Linked DNA regions of Homo sapiens: region 1 is linked to region 2. The links are contacts of gene promoters, found by promoter capture Hi-C in blood cells and fetal thymus (Javierre and others, 2016). All regions are on one chromosome and are shown on one strand. The core of a region is centred on a gene start or on the middle of the fragment in contact, and the rest is flanking DNA. Distances in the headings are between cores, read along the strand shown. Region 1 overlaps FOXP1 (forkhead box P1). Region 2 holds the start of FOXP1 (forkhead box P1).

Evidence for each region. The method cuts DNA at HindIII sites, captures the fragments that hold promoters and counts their contacts. A CHiCAGO score of 5 or more calls a contact.
Region 1: a fragment that was not itself captured here is called in contact with the fragment with the promoter of FOXP1 in region 2 in 2 of 17 cell types (total B cells and naive B cells); the score reaches 6.3 in total B cells.

What each region holds. Positions count from the first base shown.
Region 1 is chr3:71,359,680-71,365,602 of GRCh38, reverse strand. All of the region lies in intron 3 of FOXP1 (forkhead box P1), which reads left to right. Among named protein-coding and RNA genes, the nearest start is that of FOXP1-AS1, 73 kb to the right of the region's middle. The HindIII fragment of the contact is 5,034 bases long and covers 130-5,163 here.
Region 2 is chr3:71,582,263-71,588,525 of GRCh38, reverse strand. It overlaps FOXP1 (forkhead box P1), which reads left to right and starts at 4,798. Exons shown (of 21, transcript NM_001349338.3): 1 at 4,798-4,955. It overlaps FOXP1-DT (FOXP1 divergent transcript), which reads right to left and starts at 3,583. Exons shown (of 1, transcript NR_182289.1): 1 at 1,117-3,583. RefSeq lists an enhancer at 4,314-4,608 and a silencer at 4,686-4,925. The HindIII fragment of the contact is 2,384 bases long and covers 3,541-5,924 here.

The DNA of each region.
Region 1 (5,923 bases), core at 1,397-3,896, 220 kb after region 2:
TCCAGTGACATCTAAAATCTACTGTTTATTTTGCTTTTTTAAAAAAGGTCCAACATAAAGTCACTTTAAGGTGACTGTTACCTACACTATCTTAACACAGGGGCTTGACTGTATTGATGAGAAAAAGCTTCAGCTTTTTTTTTTTTTTTTTGGTTGTTGCAAGTATTCCTTGGATTTTTGTTCGGAATGGCATGGGATTCTAGTAAGCTGTCTATGTGGGCGCATGGGCCCTTGGAAAGGTGGCATGACTTAGGGGAAAGAACCAGGCATGGGGTGAGTGAGTGGAAGCTGAGCCTGCCAGCACTCATCTCTTAACCCTTTGGCAAATTAAGGCAACTACCCTTACCATCAGTAATCCATCCCTGGCAGTCAGATATCCTGAGTGAAAGTGCTGACCAGAGTCTATTTCACATTATTTTACATAGGACAAATTTTAATGTGTTATGTGTCAATGTGCAAAACCCTCAATCAATGTTCTGAAGCAGAAGTTGGCAAATCCAGCCCACTGCCAGTTTGTGTAAATAACGTTTTATTAGAACACAACAACACCCACTTGTTTACATGTGATTACTTTTCTACTGTAGTACCCAAGTAGTTGCAATAGAGAGCTGTGGCACCAGAGTCTAAAATATTCACTAAGTGTTCCTTTACAGAAAAAGTTTACCAACTCTTTTCTAAAATATGACTAAAAGATAGTAAAATATCTTATATATACACAGCTATCACGTTAAGGATGTAAAAATGTTTAAAACATTAATTAGTTAACAGTTAATATGATCTCAACATTTATTTTGTTTGAAATGTGACTTCTTTTTTAATCATGAAGAACATCTGAAACGCATCACTTTTGTGGCTGGGTTTTCAAAACCTCTAGGGAGGTATCTGATGTTCTACCAGTTGTACTGCAATGTGACACTTAACCTTCACCCATTTCGTTAAAAATGTTACATTAAATTTGAAGGATGTGATAGGATTTTTTCTTTTATAATAGCAGCAGACAAAACTGTTTTATTTAGAAATAAATAAAACATGTATTTTCTGTAAAGTTTGGATATTAAAAGCCAATTCAACAGCAACAACAAAAGGCATTCAACTAGGAAACTGTCAACTGGATCAATATTCTGTGGCATTTGGTTTTATTTCACTTCTTAGAAGCTCAGTATTCTTACCTGTAAAGTGGGAATCAAACTTCCTTACTGGGCTACGTGAAGGTTAAGTAAGTAAAACTATGTCTGACACATTTTGGGCATACATTAGCTGTTGGTTCCCTTTCCTTTTACTACCCTTAGCTTAGTTAGAGGAGCAAATAATGGTAACTATGAAATATTTTCAGAAAATGTTCCAAATTGACAGAGCTTCTGCTTACTTATGGTTACCTGGAGACCCAAGTAAAAGCCAGGGAGAAATTGGAAAGGTCCATGTATTTGGGTAAGAGATACTAGCAGCTGTAACCAACATTCCAGAATTTGAAATTTTTGAAATTAGCCGGGTGTGATGGCACGCGCCTGTAGTCCCAGCTGCTCGGGAGCTTAACTCAGTGCAGTTTAATGGGTGAGCACCTCCCACTGTTAGTGCTGGTTGAGGGGGACTGGAGCGGTGGTGGCTCTGCTCCATGTAGTCTTTCAGGGACCCAGGCGAATTCCATCCAGTGACTCCACTATCTCCAGGAACTAGGCATTCTCTACTGGATCTCTGCGCCCACGATCCAGGGAAGAAAGCAGTCATTAGGCAGGGTGCCAGAGGCTTCAGGATCTGAATGAAAGTAGTGTATACCCACTTCCATCTATTTGGTTAGAACTCAGTCACCAGGCCCCACCTAACTACAAGGGATGCTGGGAAATGCATTCCAGCTGTGTGTTCAGGAAAAAGAAATGGATTTGATGAACGTTTAGCTGGTCTTTGCCACAGACTGACCGCATTTTCTTGTATTATTATGGAGGACAAATGTTTACCATACATAAACTGCCCAGAGGTGCTGATAATCTGAGAACCTGTCTCCAACAAGTCCCCTGGGAAGGGCAGCATTTAAAGACAGTCGTGCTGGTTTGGAACAATTTATCTGCCTACTTGTTTAAATATATTTAAAAAATTAGCCTGCAGTCTGAATCTACTTCCCACATGTTGTGTGCCATTTAGGCATTTTGGCGTTCTAAAATGACAGATCTATCTCAGAGTGAGTAAGTTTAGGAATACATACTTAAGAAATGTTGCATGCAGTGACATTTTCCTTCCCAAAGTGATCTACGTGTACTCAAATTTATTTTGCTATTTTATAAAATAAGAAGTTGTACACAATATTGAGTAGAATTCTTTATCCGTGATGGCAGATAGAACATCTGTTGAAATACTACCACTGTTACTTATTTTGAATTGCACATTTTACAATGAATTATATCAGAATTATATCAATAAAAAATTGAAAAAATTTTCAATTTTTTAACACCTTTAATAGATCTAAACACACCTTTTTTTTTTAAAGTTATTCATTTACATCATGATTATATGAATATTTTAGGATTATAATCACCCTAAAATGAAGGACAAAATTTATCACACCAAAATAGAAATTTAATTTAAAGTACAAAGAACTTGATTACAAGGTTTAGTAGACTAGAAACAAGACATAAAAGAAGACATTAAAAAACACTTTTTAAGACACCCTCAGCAGTATAGTTTTACAGTAGATTTGGAAAAAATACAACAGCATTTATTAATGTTTGTGAAGATCATATTATAGACTAATCAAAGATCAAAGTTTGTAAGGTTCAAAAAACACACATAAGCAAATTTTGGTCATTTCCTGGAAAATACTAACTTTAAATATCTTCATTCAGGCTGGGCATGATGGCTTATGCCTGTAGTCCCAGCACTTTGGGAGACAAAGGCAGGCAGATTGCTTGAGGCCAGGAGTTTCAGACCAGCCTGGGCAGCACAGTGAGACACTGTCTCTACAAAAAATACAAAAATTAGCCAGACATAGTGACACCTGCCTGTAGTCTCAGCTACTTGGGAGGCTGAGGTGGGAGGATGGCTTGAGCCTGGGAGATTGAGGCTGCAAAGAGCAGAGATCATGCCACTGCACTGCAGCCTGAGCAACAGAGTGAGACCCTTTCTCAAAAAAGTAAATAATAGGGCTGGGCGCGGTGGCTCACGCCTATAATCCTGGCACTTTGGGAGGCTGAGGCAGGTGGATCACAAGGTCAGGAGATCCAGACCATCCTGGCTAACACGGCAAAACCCCGCCTCTACTAAAAATACAAAAAATTAGCTGGGCATTACAGTGGGCACCTGTAGTCCCAGGTGCTCGGGAGGCTGAGGCAGAAGAATTGCTTGAACCCAGGAGGTGGAGGTTGCAGTGAGCCGAGATCATACCATTGCACTCCAGCCTGGTGACAGAGCGAGACTCCATCTCAAAAATAAATAAATGAATAAATAATAAAACACAAATTTTCATTCAGTATCATACAGTTAGTGAAGTTTGTTTGAGATGGAAGCTGCTCTTGGCCATATTGTGATCCAGGGGCCTTAGTCAAAAGTCAGACTTGTCCACAGACATGTGTAATTAAAAATACTCCACTCACTTTTCTTGGTACTCCATGACATTTCCCACTACCTGTCACTTTGTCCTTGACGATATATGGGGCAGAAAACAAATTGCTTGGACGAGGTTGGTTTTCCAGTCAGCTGTTCCTTATTTTTCTCCGGTGCTTCTTTGTTATATTAGAGTTCAAATTTACTATTCATGAAACACATTTTAATCAGTGACCATATCAGACAAATGGAAGCTAAGCGCTGGTTAGTCTGTTGAAAATAAACATGAGGGCTCTCATTAATGTCGCTGTCTGAATAATTAGTTGAGCATCCAGTCCTGAGCAGCGGTGAAAGCAGACCGGCGTCTCACTGGAACGACAGGCTGACAGCCCTGTCTTGGAGAATGGTCATTAGTGTGCCCCGCCATCAATGTCATGTTACTGTGTCAAATTAGTTAGTGTCCCCTTAGGAGAGAAGCCGGACCTACAAATTATCCTCCCACATCCCTTGGAAACTGTGTTTGCCAAACCTGCAATCGAGTGTGAGCAAATTATTAACACGGCTCATAAATTAACTAGTTTACAGGCTTATAACATTTTACAAGTAGATAATAAAGGGGAGAAAAGTTTTCCAATTGCATTGCCCTGACGTGGGGCTGTGATCTGCCGACTGTTCCTTGAGGAGTCCACAGCTCATAGTTTTTTGTTAAGAGTCCAAACTCATGGGGTGTCAGAACAAATGTTTGGAAATGTAGAATCTAAAAGGCAGCCAGTGTAAATCCACTGAAAACAATATAATTAACTTCATTATCTCGTTGCTCTGATAAGTCGATGACAATGGTCATCTTTCTTTTAGTGGCAGTTGCTCATTAATGAGTTCACCAATTAAGTTTGAACGATTACAGCCTTTACCAACTGAAATTATCTTAAAAACATTTTTGATGCATTCTTATCATACTCTTAAGCTCCCTTGCTCAAGAGGGAAAATGCCCACACAGCACATTAAACTCATATAAGAATGAAGATTCAGAAGTCATGTGCAAAGAGTTTATGCACACTAGACACCAGATACCTAGAAAACATAGTGTGGACAAATCTGGCCTGAGTTTATCTCATATCTAGAAGAGACACCCACTGGGAACACCATCTCTTAACTCTCTTCTGAGTTCTGGTAGGCAGACAGCCCACATAGTTTCCGGAGACAGGTGACTATTCAAATCATAAAACTTCGTGCATCTCCTTTTTAGTTTCAACTTCTCCATCTGAGTAGGTTAAAAACATGTAAATTCACAAAGTATTGCCTGAATTTACTATTGAAAGAGAACACTGCACACAGACGTACATGTACGTGCCTTGAAAGCTCAGGCTTTCTACCCATTCTATAGTTCCATTTTTTTTTTTCTGTATTAGTGAGAGTCCTTTATTTAATCTTGAGGACCATATAGATGGCATTATTATCTCAAGGATCTATGCAGAAAAGACCCGGCATGTGAAACCTTGCTACTGACAGCTATTCGCAAAAACTTTCTGAAAGTGCTTGAGGATGAGTTGACTTATCTGTCAGCAACTTCAACTTACTTGGAATTGGATTTGGTAAATATTCTACTAATAACCTAACCAAGCGATGAAAGCTTTGCAGTCTCAGCACATGAACAGAGTGACTGTTTCCATGAGAAGGTGTGTCACAGTCTCCTTTTGCATTTGAAATGCAACTGAAAAAAAAAGAGTTGCTAACTGTGGCAAGTAAGATTTTCTGTTTGGCTGTCAGGAGAGAGCTTGTATGTTTCGCTAGTAGGGCGCCTGTGTCCATGTATGTACTTACTTCCTCCTGTCTCTTCTACTGAGTGCATTGAGATAGGCTAAAAGATCAAAACTCATGGCAAAATTATCATTTGGACCTATGGATCTTCTTTTTCTTATTTCTCAGGATGTATTAGCACTGTAATTATGAGAATTTATCTTGAGAAATAAGAAATTATAAGCCGAGCATGGTGGCTCATGCCTGTAATCCCAGCACTTTGAGAGGCCGAGGCGGGTGGATCATTTGAGGTCAGGAATTTGAGACCAGCCTGGCCAACATGGTGAAACCTTGTCTCTACTAAAAATACAAAAATTAGCCAGACACGGTGGCGGACACCTGTAATCCCAGCTACTCGGGAGGCTGCGGCAGGATAATCGCTTGAAACTGGGAGGTGGAGGTTGCAGTGAGCCGAGATCATGCCACTGCACTCCTCTAGCCTTGGAGATAGAAGAAGACTGTGTCTGGAAAAATAATTGCAGCACTTTGTAGGCTGAGGCAGGAGTATCACTTGAGCTCAGGAGTTTGAGACCAGCCGGCCTACTAAAATTTAGCTTGTCTACTACAATTCCAAAATTATTTGGGCATGGTGGCG
Region 2 (6,263 bases), core at 3,549-6,048:
ACAACCTCTTTTCACAATCACCAATTTAGAAAAACATAAAAATATTTGCAGGCCATATTTATTTATGTTTATATAACTGCATACTTTAAAAAAAAGCAGCAAGTGCAGTCTTGGTAACTAAGGTCTCACTCTCCAGTTAGAAAAACAGAAAAAGCACTATTGTTTCTAGATTTAACTCTGAGCCTCTTAAGTTTTGTTGTGGGGGAAAACACTTTTTAAGCTAGGGTCATTCCCCGTTCCCTGACTAGCTTTTCCACCCACTCAAATTATCAAATGTGGTTTTGTCTCAGAGTGTGCCTGTTAATATTGTATACTTTAAAACAAGAGATCCCCTGCTGATTTCCGGTGTGGACATATAGGGACATGAGGACACAGAGGATGGGCTCCTCTTACCACTTACTGTGAAGCACATGATTTTCATTAGCCATTTTTATCTTCTTGGAAGGCAACTGAGTTTAAGCTTTCATTTAGAGAATGGTCTGCCCACGCTTACTAACCTCCCCTCTCTGAATCCACTTTTCTCTTCTCAACCCTCCCTTCTTTCTTTGCTGTGTTGACCCCCACCTGGATGTCTGTCACATCTATGGAGAGAGGGTGGAGAGAAAGGACGGTGAGCAGGGGGTTGAACTTGTTCTTGACCCTCTGTGGCCTCAGTTTCTCCCAGATCTGTAAAGGGGTCTGTAGGTTAGCTGTTTCTGAGAAGCTAGACAAACCACTTAAGTCTGAGGATTGGTCACTTTAGTGGAAAGAGTGAGATGGAAACCCACAAAGTCAGGACACCTGGATTCTAATCCTTGTCCAACCAGTAACCAAATTTATTTTGCCTTGGAGGGCAAATGAAATCCCTGGGCCTTAGATTCCTCATCTGTAATGCGATATTCTTAGTTATGCCCATGTTTTTTAAAGTGTAGGAACCTTGGCACTAGGATGGCATAACACTGAATCACACATTGAGAACTGTATTCCTTTCCGATCACTTTAAATCCTTCTGGTTGTTAAAAAAAAAAAAAAAAAAAAAACAGAAAAAAAGAGAGAGAAAAAACAAAAATTCAAAAATTTCCATTGATACTCTTGTCCTTAACCCTTCTCAACATTTGCCACTCTCCCTCCTTTTTTCAAAAATCATTTTTAATTTTTGTTTTGACCCTCAAAGAGAAATCAGTGACTTTGTTTTTACTGTGCTTGTTTTTAATTTATGGTGGGTGATACTGATTTCCCATTTAAGGCAGTAATAGAAAAAAATTAAAAGAAGGTTGATTTAAATGAAAATGTTTGCTACAATTACCATAATAAGTGGCCTCCAATGAGTATGGTATATTAATTATTCGGGAACTGTTATGTCATATAGATATGGCAAAAATCAGGACACCAGTAACTGTGGTTAAAGAAACACTAAATTAAGTGGTTTTAGTTTTTGTTCAACTCAAAACTTACAAGAGCATTCAGGTACGTCGTCAGGTGGTAAATGTCCACTCCAGTTTCTGTTCCCCAAATGTACATATATTTAGTGACATGGTATTTGGTGAATGAAGCTCATGTTTGGTGTATACAATCAACAGTAATGTGACAGGGGACTAACATATTCTGATACGTTTGGGAAAATTTTGGCTGCAGTTAACTATAATTTGCTAATTTTGCATTTACATTGGTTTTTTTTTTCTCCTGTTACTTAAAATATAACGAAATGGGGACAAGCACCTTTGCCTTGGTGTAATTAAAAATAAAATTATGTCAGGAACATCTGTTTTCAGAAGGGATTTCTATTTGTTTTATCACCAAAAGGTGGCGTCCTACCCCCATGCCCTTTATTTTAAAACCTTTCTTGCTTTAATTTAACAAAAAGAAACTTCCAGTTGATTACTGATAAAGAAATTAAAATCTGCCCCCCACGAATGTAACGTGACAGTGTTGAAAATGAACAATATGTTAAGCTGCAGTTAAGTTTCCCTCTAATGTAAACCAAATGGACATCGAGTTCTTTAATAAGGCAGCACAGCACATTAGACAGTATCATACAAAATTGAGTACAATATATCATGGGATTTACAACCAGGATTTCCTTTTGTCTGCAAAACTTGTTGCCAACCTGACTGTGGCCCCCACTTGCAAGTGAATGTAGAATTTAAGGCAGTTAAAATGCAGAATCAGATTAGCAGCAATCTAAAGATCTTTTTAGTATTGCGATGATAATAATTTTTAATAAACACACTGCTTAATCTGAAAAACAAGATCAGAGGATGAATTGTTCTTTACAGACTATGAATAGATCTGTTACATTTAAATAAGTCGTTATTCCCCTGAGTTATAATTCTACAGTCAGGCATATACCATAAACATGTTATATTTGGCATAAAGTACTTTAGAAATTAAAAACCATTTTTAATAGGTTGACCACTACAGAACCAGTAGACTGGCTACTTTGTAGATTTCCACTTAATTCCGTGTGAATTCAGCATATGGAATTTCCAGTGATGTCAAAGAGTTGTTGGCAGTATTAACTGAGTTGACATAAAGCTTTTAGTTCAGTGCCTAGATCATAGTATTTAATAAATGTTAGATGTTATTATTGACAGCTTAGACTGTGAGCTCCTCAAGGGCAGGAATTTTTATTTTTTCATCCCTCTGTGCCCACTCTGTGGTCTAGCACACAGTGGGTATGTCATTAATCCCTTTATGTCTTGACAAACAAGACGTCGAACCCTAGCCTCTAGGAAGCTAGGACATTCCATACAAACTAAAATGCATTTTATTGGTCTAGATTCTAGTCTAAAAGATTCAGTGAATAGTCTTATCTGGATAGCATGGAACTTTATGCAGCATGCATGCAATGTGAATTCTACCAGGCTGAAATTACCTTAGCAGCCTCCCTTTCTTTTATTCTGTAGCATCAGCGAATGGCTTTGTTATTTTTTTTTTTTAACTTGCGAAAGATACAATTTCAAAGCGATAGTCTTATGCCACCCTTGAAATTAAGATTTAAGTTCTTCTGTAAATTAATGTTTAACAATATTTGTAAAGGGGCATTACGCGAAAGAATTTAATAATAACCTTTTCAGGATATTATCTACAACTGTGCTGGTCTCAAGACCAAAGGGACAGTAAGCCTCTCCCCTCCCCGCAAGGGGAAGTACTTTGTAGGAATCCACAGGGGTGACTTTTAATATATTCTCATAAAGAATTGGCCTGGTGTACACCAGCCAGCCAGTAGCTGGAAATGCTGGTTTGGGAGTCTGGCCACTTCTGTGGTGGTGGGTCTGAAAAAATTTACTTCTGTTAACAACAACAACAACAACAACAACAAGACATAGAGGTCTTACAGCTTTCCAAGTCACGTTTTGGAAACACATACTCTGCTTCCTTCTCTATGCGTATTGATAAAAGTGAAAGAAATACTAGTGTCTTTTGTTTTATGTATGTATATTTCAAAACATTTAATTCAGGCTCTTAGTTTATTCCTTCGAATTTCTAAATTCAACCAAACTTCAAAAACCGCAAAAAGAAAAAAAAAAATCTCACCTTTTCAAAGAATTGGACAAAGCTTTTTGCACGTGACTGATCACTGGGAGAGCAGGTAATTTGTGTTAAACAACGGACTGACATGCTAGCCCCCAGGCGTTTTCCTAAGAGGAGTCGTGGCAAGAACACAGTTCCTGATGCAGCCACCTTCCCCCAAAGTGGACTCGATTGCACATTCCTGCAGTGGCTCTGACAAGGGGGCAGAAGCTCGTCCCACATTCACACTCTCCTGATTCCGAGAAACAGGGGAGAAAACCCCTCGCTGGCTGGCGGGGTTTCTGTTTCCTTGCAAACAGGGGTTTGTCCTTCTGCTGAACTTTCACCTCCCGAACTCGCCTTCTTTCATTGGACAAAGTGCAGAAAGAAAGAGGAGAGACCGAGGGAGGACGGGAGAGAGGGAGAAAGGGGGTTGAAAACACCACCTCCCACCCCGCTCTCCTTCAACTGTCACTGATGGCAAAACACTTTCACTTTTAACTGGAGGAAACTCACATTCTAGCCTGTCCTCTCCCCTCCCTTTCATATTTTTAGCTCAGAATCCAAGCAAATAGCCATCGCATTCCCATCTTCGTCCCTAGTTAACACTCTCCCTTCTCGTTTTTTCCGCTGTCTGAATGGGCCCCCCATTTCCCATCTCCTGAGGAATCTCCCCCTCCGCCCCCCTGCCCCTTATTTTCCAGGTCTTTCCTGCCAGATCCCTCTGTTGCCAGGGACTGCTCTGGCGTTCCCTTCCTCTCTCTGGTCCGCGGGGCTCTGCCTCCCTCTCCTCTTTCCAATCCTGCCTGGACGCCCCTCACTTCCCCCTCCCTGGATCCCTCCCCCCAACCCCCCCCCCCATTCTTTGGCAATTGCGATTTTTTTTTTCTGGGAGCCCGGTTGTTTACCCAGCAGGTGGATGTGACGTCAGGGACGCACAACAGCAAAAAATAACAACATCTCCCTCCGCGACGTGTTGGCCTCTCTCGCGCGCCTTATTTATTTATTTGTTCCGGGATGTCGGGGGGGAGGGGGGAGGGAGGAGGGGGGTGGGCGCCAGCGCCCCGGCGAACGGCAAAGAGGGAGCCGCTCCCGCTCGGGGGGCCGCTGGAGTGCCCAGCGGGGTGCGTGAAGCGGAGAGGGGACCCCTGCGGGAGGTAGAGGGTCGGGCCGGGGTGCGCCCCCGGGCCGGTGCTGCCCGCGCCTCTGCCGCCGCCGCCGCCGCCACCGGCGCTGGCTGGGCTCCGGGAAGCTAGTCCGGAGCGGAGGAATCTATTGTTATTTATTGTGTGGCGGTTGCACGCTGTACTCGCGGCGGCCCGGCCCTCGCCCGGGAGTGCGTGTGTGCGCGCGTGTGTGCGCGAGTGAGTGTGTGCGCGGGGTGCGCGCGCGGGCGGGAGTGGGCGCGCGCGGGGAAAGGCCCGAAAACACCTTAGTTTGCACCGAGAGACCATTTGCAGCGGGTGAGTTTGTATTTTTCCATTTCTGCTCCACTTTTTCCCAAGCCGCCTCCTGTCTTGTTTCCGCCACTTTAAACAACAACAACAACCAGCACAAAAAAAAAAAAAGAAAGAAAGAAAAAGAGAAAAAAAATGGAAAAAAAAAAACAACTACTTTCCACCTCCAGGCTCCACGTGCATCTCCCCCAGCCCTCCCCTCTCTTCCTCTCCCCCCCGGGTCGAGGCCCAGCTCTGGGATGGGTGGGGGCTGCGGGCCGGCGCGCGGGTGGAGGGAGCTCCGGCGGCGCCCGCACCCTTTGGGTTTATTTGCATAAGTCAAATGGGGGCGGGGGCGGTGGCGACTGTGAGGAGGCGAGATCGCCTGCCCGTAGGCCCCTTCACGCCTCTCTCTGCGCTCTCCACGATCGCCTAGGGGAGAGAAATCAATAAGCCCAGGCCGCCTGGCGCAACTTTCGATGTCCGGCGTTGGCGTCCGGTGGCCGCCCGGGCGCGGGGCCGGTGCGGGGTCCCGGGTCCTGGCCGCGGCGGGAGGGGGCGCGCGCCGGGCGCCTCCTAGGCCCAAAGTTTAGACTTGGAGCAAACTTTTCCCCTTCTTTCCCCGCGGGTGTGTGCCCCCTCGGTGCCCTTGAGCTGCCCCGCGGGCCCCAGCAAACTGACTGTGGTGCCTGGCCCTGGGCCCCGCACTGGGGAACTTCCCCGCTGCCACGCGCGCGTTACCCCGAGAGTCAGCGGCGAGGAAGCTCTCCCGCCACCCCCTCGGAGCCCGGAAAATTCAAACACGCACCTGCGCACCCCCAGCCAGACACGCACCCCTACGCGCGCTCGGCCTCCGCTTTCCCGAGACGAGTCCGCAACAGCCGTGGCCAGATCCACGGGTGGGTGCGGGAGCCGGATGCGCTGCGAGGAGTCGCCGCGCCCGGATCTCTCTCCCACCATCACACACATTTTCTGATTTTACCCCCCTCTGAAGCTTGGGGGACGGGGAGATTTCCCAAGCTCCGATTTGTCCTGCGTCGCGCGCGTGTCGCCTCGTCCCTCCGGCCCTGTCCTGGCGGCCGATGGCTCTCCGTCCCTCGCTTGCGCGCAGCCTTCCTCCCGAGCTCCCTGCGCTCTATTCCTGTCCCGCCGAGACGACTCCCTGGAGCCAGCGAGCCGAGGCGGCGTGCGCTTCGAGTGGGGACCACGGCGGTGGCGGCGGCGCCGGGAGCCGAGGAGTTTGCCAGTTGCCGCGGGGTCGCGGTCATTTGCTGCCTCCGCCTTCCCTCGCCCCCGCCTCCCGCCTCCCTCCTTTTCAGACAACGTCGCGCTCGG